2 separate regions of the Homo sapiens genome follow, and region 2 is linked to region 1. The links are contacts of gene promoters, found by promoter capture Hi-C in blood cells and fetal thymus (Javierre and others, 2016). All regions are on one chromosome and are shown on one strand. The core of a region is centred on a gene start or on the middle of the fragment in contact, and the rest is flanking DNA. Distances in the headings are between cores, read along the strand shown. Region 1 holds the start of LINGO4 (leucine rich repeat and Ig domain containing 4). Region 2 has its middle 18 kb from the start of POGZ.

Region 1 (3,167 bases), core at 198-2,697:
GCAAGGGATGGCTACAGAGATAGGAGCAAAAGCCCATGGATGCTCTCTGGGATACAGCGCGTCTGAGTCTCTGCTGAGCGGCAATCCTGATCACCTTTGGGCTTGTGGGCTTCAGGCTCTCTGGGCTCTACAGGGTCAGCTTTCTACTACATGCCCTGTTTTTTCTCATGTGGAACTTAGGAGAGGCAGTTTAAGAGATGGTCATTTCTTCCCCTTTCCTTCCCACTCTCCACCTCCTAGAAGGATCATTCTAGTGGCTATCCTACAGCCACTTGAGAGGATTGTCCTAGTTGGGAAACTAAAGAAAGAGGCCAAAAGAGCAGAGGGATGCAGAAAACTGGTGTGAGGCTTGGGGATGAAAAAGAATAACGTGGGGCAAAGACTGCAGAGCAGACTCTTCTCGCCCCAAACTGACCTAACAGGTCTCTGTGGCATGCCCAGAGCTCTCCCGGGAAAGATGGCCCAGCCTCCCTTGTTCTCCCTAGGCTTGTTCTGGGAAGTCCACCTGACAGCTAGCTCTTCATCACTACTGCTGCAGTTCCTGCCCATCCTCGCTCTGCATTCAGCAAAAGTGCAGTGAAGCATGTAACCCAGCTTTCTTCCTTCCTGCTCCTGTGAGTTTCCCCTGAGTCCGCTGGGCCAGGGGCTGAGGGAGCTGGAGCAACCTATTTTATTTCTAAGGTGGCTAATTTAATCACAAATTTCCCTTGCCAACCTCCATGGCTGCAGGACCGGCTTCCGGCCACTTTGCAGGAAGCGAGATGTCAGAACCACTTTTTTGTCCCTTCAGTGGGGTGGGGACATCACCAAGACATGACCCTTGAAGGCATCACCCCTCAAGGGTAGGGAGCCTTTTTCTTGTCTTTATGTGGCAGTCCAGAGACACTTTTGAACCTGGGTATCCTGTATCCTCTTTAAAGCACACCTGACTGACAAATGGGAACTGTGTGGGGAGAGGGTTCCTGGGGGAAAGATTTCTGGAAGATCCACACCGATTGTGGAGAAAAACCCTTCCAGAGGAAGGGGAAGCACTGGGGAGATGGAAGGGAGGTCTCCTTGGAGCCCTTCCACCCAGGGGTACTTGGGATATTTGAGTTTCCCCCTCAAAGTCCCATGGGGCCAGGATTAATTGTTAGCAGTGTGGGGGCCCAAACCCTCTTGCCTTGAGGGGCCTGTCTGGCCCCTAGTCTGGCCTGTCTCGGAGAATGTTATGGAAAAGGGCGGCTGCATCTTTGGGACAGAGAGTGGGGGCACTTACCGGAGAAGCTGGAAGGTGGCATCAAGTTTGGCACTGCATCTGTCCAGCGCTGGGGGCCCTGTCCCATTCGAGCTGCACCTCAGGCCCCTGCACCTTCCCTGTGTGCCTCAACCCCCGCTGCCTGGCTGCCCGGCTGCTGCCTGCCGCTGCTGCTGCTGCTGTTGCTGCTGCGGCCGCTGCTGCCAAGACTGAGGTGGAGAAAAGAGCCAGAAAGCATTTCTCCTTTTTTTTTTTCCTCTCTCTCTCTCTCTCTTTTTAAACCAGGCAAGAATGAGTCTGCAGCAACCCTGTTGGTGCAAAATAAATAAATAAAGCAACCAGGGAGGGCTGCAGCAAGCACCACTACAGGCTGGCAAGTGACAGGGGAGGGAGCCAGGAGGGAGGCTCTGGTGCCAGGGAGGGGTCATGCAATAGCAAGAACAGCAGGTTCTAGAGGATCTCTCTGACATCCTGATTCCCCCACTGGGGAGCTTGGGCCAGCCACCTTCCAGAGGACTGTCTTTTGGTCTCCCAGATGTGGAGCAATTCTGTGCAACCTCTAAATCTAAACGTTCCCCGTGGGTATCATTTATGGGAAGTTCTCAGTCTAGAGCATCTCCCGTGGGGCTCAGTTTGAGGCTCCTACAGTGGGGGTTCCTGAAGATTCGTTCACAGTCCTCACTGAGGGACTGCTCCACCTGGGGAGAAACTGCAGGGGTCGGGTGAGGGTGGGTTGGATCTGTATAATGCTGATGGATTGCTGAGCTGGAAACCTGAGTCTTGACCCAGGAATGAGACTGGAGAGCAGGCATGCAGGTAATCTAATTTAAGAATCTCCCCCACCCTCTGACACACACACTTCTTGCCTTTAAAATCATTTTATAAAGAATGGCACAAGTTGGGGTTTATGTTTACTCAGATGAACCCGTCCCCTTAGAGGACACAATCCCACCCCCAACCCCCCCAACTCCACGACTGCCCATCATTGCTGTTAATCCCTCAGGGGAGGGTTCACAGCTGTTTATGAAGCCAAGAGAGGTTCTGGGCAAGATCACAGCTGGGGAAACAGGCCCAGGCCCTGCTCCCTGGTGTCCTCCATGCTGGAGTCAGCGGTGCCCAATGACGGGGTGATGTGATCACATCTGCTTCCTTCTCCACAACAAGAGCAGGGCTGGCGGGCAGGCCAGGAAAGTCCTCCAGGATCTGATCTTGCCTTCCGACTGACCAGTGCGAGCGACTTCTGCTTCTCTTGGGTCTTCTAGTGGTAGAAGACAGCTGGAGCTGGGGTGGTATTTGGATCACCCCAGACCCAAGATCAGTGGACTGGAGCACCATGGAAATGTTTGGGAGGGTCCCTCAGGATTGGGACTTTCCCCTGAGGCCTCTAGGCTCCTCCAAGCTGTGGCCTCAAGGATAAGAGAGATTGTGTCAGGTTCATGTGTCTCTGGAACTGCATGATTGCTGTTGAGTCTGTATGTGTTTCACCTGTGTATGGATATGTGTCTCTGATCAGATTTGTGCCAGCCCCTAAAGTCTATCTTTAAAGTGCACATAAGAGGTTTGAGTTTTAACTCTATGTCTGAGATGCTCTTGGCCTTCATTGTACCCTAGTCCCACACCCAAATCCCATAAAACAATTATCTCCAGCCTCTCATCCTCATCCCATCCATTTTTGGTTAGACCCCAGGTAAAGGGTAGGGTGCCCAAATACTTCCTTGCTGAGCTGGGAGGAAGGCAGAGGCAGAAAATGTAAAGCTCCAGATTCATTTTATACAGGTCCTTCTGGGCTCTCACTGCCAGTCTCTGAGCTTGATCCATCTCCCCAAGCCGAAGCCCAAAGGGAAATGCAATGAGGTATTTCAAAGGCTTATTCTTAGCTTCTGAGCTTCTGAATGAATTGCATTCTATTCATCCAGGGAGCCCTGGATGC
Region 2 (3,167 bases), core at 452-2,951, 330 kb before region 1:
TCTCAGTTATCATGCTATATCTATGCCACGCCATTTCTAGAGCAAGTAACTTAGCTGAAAGTGACTATACCTATAAGAAAACAAATATCCCTGTAGAGACATTTGTAGATGAATTGTGGAAGTACTCTAAAATTTTTGGCCAGATTTTGGGGAATGTTTGAGTCTAGCTGGTACAGAAAGTACATTCTGTTTTATGAAAATAGCAACATTGAAGTGAAAAGATATCATTAATGTATACATGTAGTCAGAAATTGAATGTGCCCTGGCTGATTGCAATTTATTTATTCACTTAATGCGTATTTATTGAGTACAAGGCCTTAGAGTTTCCTCAGTTCTTATAGTCTGTAACAGTGCCATTCCATAGGAATGTAATGAGAGCCACATATATAATTTACAATTTTCTAGTAGCCACATTAAAAAATTAAAAAGAAACTGATAAAATTAATGTTAATATTAATATATTTTATTTCACCAAATATATCTAAAAATATATCTAAAATATTATCCTAATATGTAATTAATATACTTTTATTGGTTTTTTTTTTTTGTTTTTTTTTTTTTTTTGGGGACAGGGTCTCACTCTGTCACCCAGGCTGGAGTGCAGTGACACAATCATGGTTCATTGCAGCCTCAACCTTCTGGGCTCAGATGCTCCTCCCACCTCAGCCTCGTGAGTAGCTGAGACCACAGGCATTTGCCACCAGCTAATTTTTTGTATTTTTTTGTAGAGACAGGATTTCCCATGTTGCCCAGGCTGGTCTCCAACTCCTGGGCTCACGCGATCCACCCGCCTTGGTCTCCTGAAGTGCAGGGATTACAGGCATGAGCCACTAGAAATTATTAACAAATTATTTTACATTCTTCGTTTTGAATTAAGTTTCTCGAATTTACTTACAGCAAATCTCACATTGCACTAGCCACATTTCAGGTACTAAAAAACTACATGTGATTAATGGTTACCATACTGGGCAGTCCATGTCTAGAGAGAAATACAGATGTGTAATTTGTAAACAGGTAAACAGATAATTTCTTTTCTTTTTCTATTTTTCTTTTTTTTTTGAGACAAATTCTCACTCTCCCAGGCCGGAGTGCAGAGGCTCAGTGCAGCCTCCACCCCCTGGGCTCAAGCGATCCTCCCAGCTAACCTCCCCAACTCCCCACCCCAGCAGCTGGGACTACAGGTGGGTACCACCATGTCCAACTAATTTTTATAGAGATAGGTTTTCATCATGTTACCCAGACTAGATAATTTTAATTAAATGTAATAAAGGCTATGATGAGAAAAGTACACTCATCATACAATGAAAGCATAGAAAAGGGGCTTAGTTCCTCCAGTTTTTCCTCCTAAAATCTCATAATTCTCTCTGCTTCTCTGCATCCTGCCTGCCACGACTCTAATCTAAGCCAGATTATCTCTCTCCTAGACTTGCACAACAGCTTCCGAAATTGTCTACCTGCATCTATCCCTGCCCCTGTTTGCAGATAAAGTGAGCTTTTAAAAACGCCCATCAGATCATGTCATTCCTCTGTTTAAAACCTTAAATATATGATGAACACATTGGACAAGTGTGAGATGATGTACATAAAGCGCCCAGCCCAAAGGTTCTGCTCACTGAGTTTAGTTCTCCTCGTTTCTTCCTTTCACTCTCTTTTTTCTTCCTCTTACTTTCCTCCCCAGCTCCTTCCTCTTATCACCTATCAGTCTCTTATCATCTGAATTTCTTTTTTCTTTCTTCCTTCTCACTTGCTTTCCATTTTTTTCTTCCATCTTTACTTTCTCTCCTTTCTGCTTTAGTTTATTTTAATATAGAATTTAAATAGATTTAGAAATTCATTCTTTAATTATTTACTTCTGAGTTCCAAGCTCTTCATTTAAAAATCAAAAGAGTACTGGGCACTGTGGCTCACGCCTGTAATCCCAGCACTTTGGGAGGCCGAGGTGGGCGGATCACCTGAGGTCAGGAGTTCGAGACCAGCTTGGCCAACATGGTGAAAACCTGTCTCTACTTAAAATACAAAAATTAGCCAGGCGTGGTGGCAGGGGCCTGTAATCCCAGCTACTCAGGAGGCTGAGGCAGGAGAATCGCTTGAACCCAGGAGGTGGCGGTTGCAGTGAGCCGAGATTGCACCATTGCACTCCAGCCTGGGGGACAAGAGCGAGACTCCGTTTCAAAATAAATAAATACATAAATAAAAATAAAAATAATAAAAAGAGCTTGGCCAGGTGTGGTGGGTCACACCTATAATTCCAGCATTTTGGGAGGCCAAGGTGGGTGGATCACTTGAGGTCAGGAGTTCAAGACCAGACTGGCCTGGCTAACGTGGTGAAAACCCGTTTCCACTAAAAATACAAAAATTAGCCAGGTGTGGTGGTGCACACCTGTAGTCCCAGCTACTGAGGAGGCTGAGGCAGGAGAATCACTTGAACCTGGGAGGCAGAGGTTGCAGTGAGCCAAGATCACACCACTGCACTCCAGCCTGAGTGACAGAGTGAGACTCTGTCAAAAACAAACAAACAAACAAACAAACAAACAAACAAACAAAAAACTTGACCTTTTATCAGGATTAAATTAAGATGCTTTTTACTTCAGCATGGTCTTCAGTTAATTTTTTTTGTAGGTTGGAGAGCTTCTTTAGAAAAATGCATATAGTTTCCCAGAAGGAGGAAAGCAATCCCCTTCACATTTTATAGGGAGAAAATGGTGCAGTCACTTAGAAAGGGTCATGTGGTGGTGATTTGAAACAAGTCAGAAGAACCCAGGCTCTCGCCACAGCCCTTCCTCTCTTAGGCAAATTTCTGCCTCCTGGCAGTAGAGCAGTGAGGCAAGTTAATTATTCAGTGTTTGTGGAGGTCAATAAATAAATGAAATACCTAATTAAATAAATTTTTGGAGTGCTGAGAGCAGGCAGTTTCCTTAACTTAACACATTTCCTTTGGAGGACCAGTTCTCTTCCTTGAAAGAACAGCCAATCTAGCCATATGGGCTGTTTCCTTCTAGTTCTGAGAAGGTGGATTTATGACCCTCTGTGTACTCATCTTTCTGTTTCTGTCTCTGACATAGACAACTCTGCCAGGTGCCAGCACTCCTACCTCCACTGAAAGCAAGGAGACATCCTGAAATTACAGAAGGAAGAAAGGAAGTTACAATTCAAGAAGGACTTCTTGC

What was found. The method cuts DNA at HindIII sites, captures the fragments that hold promoters and counts their contacts. A CHiCAGO score of 5 or more calls a contact.
Region 2: a fragment that was not itself captured here is called in contact with the fragment with the promoter of LINGO4 in region 1 in 2 of 17 cell types (erythroblasts and naive CD8 T cells); the score reaches 5.3 in erythroblasts.

Annotation. Positions count from the first base shown.
Region 1 is chr1:151,803,972-151,807,138 of GRCh38, forward strand. It overlaps LINGO4 (leucine rich repeat and Ig domain containing 4), which reads right to left and starts at 1,448. Exons shown (of 2, transcript NM_001004432.4): 1 at 1,259-1,448. It overlaps RORC (RAR related orphan receptor C), which reads right to left. Exons shown (of 11, transcript NM_005060.4): 11 at 2,100-3,167. The HindIII fragment of the contact is 4,610 bases long and covers 1-3,167 here.
Region 2 is chr1:151,475,577-151,478,743 of GRCh38, forward strand. No RefSeq gene overlaps it. Among named protein-coding and RNA genes, the nearest start is that of POGZ, 18 kb to the left of the region's middle. The HindIII fragment of the contact is 5,172 bases long and covers 1-3,167 here.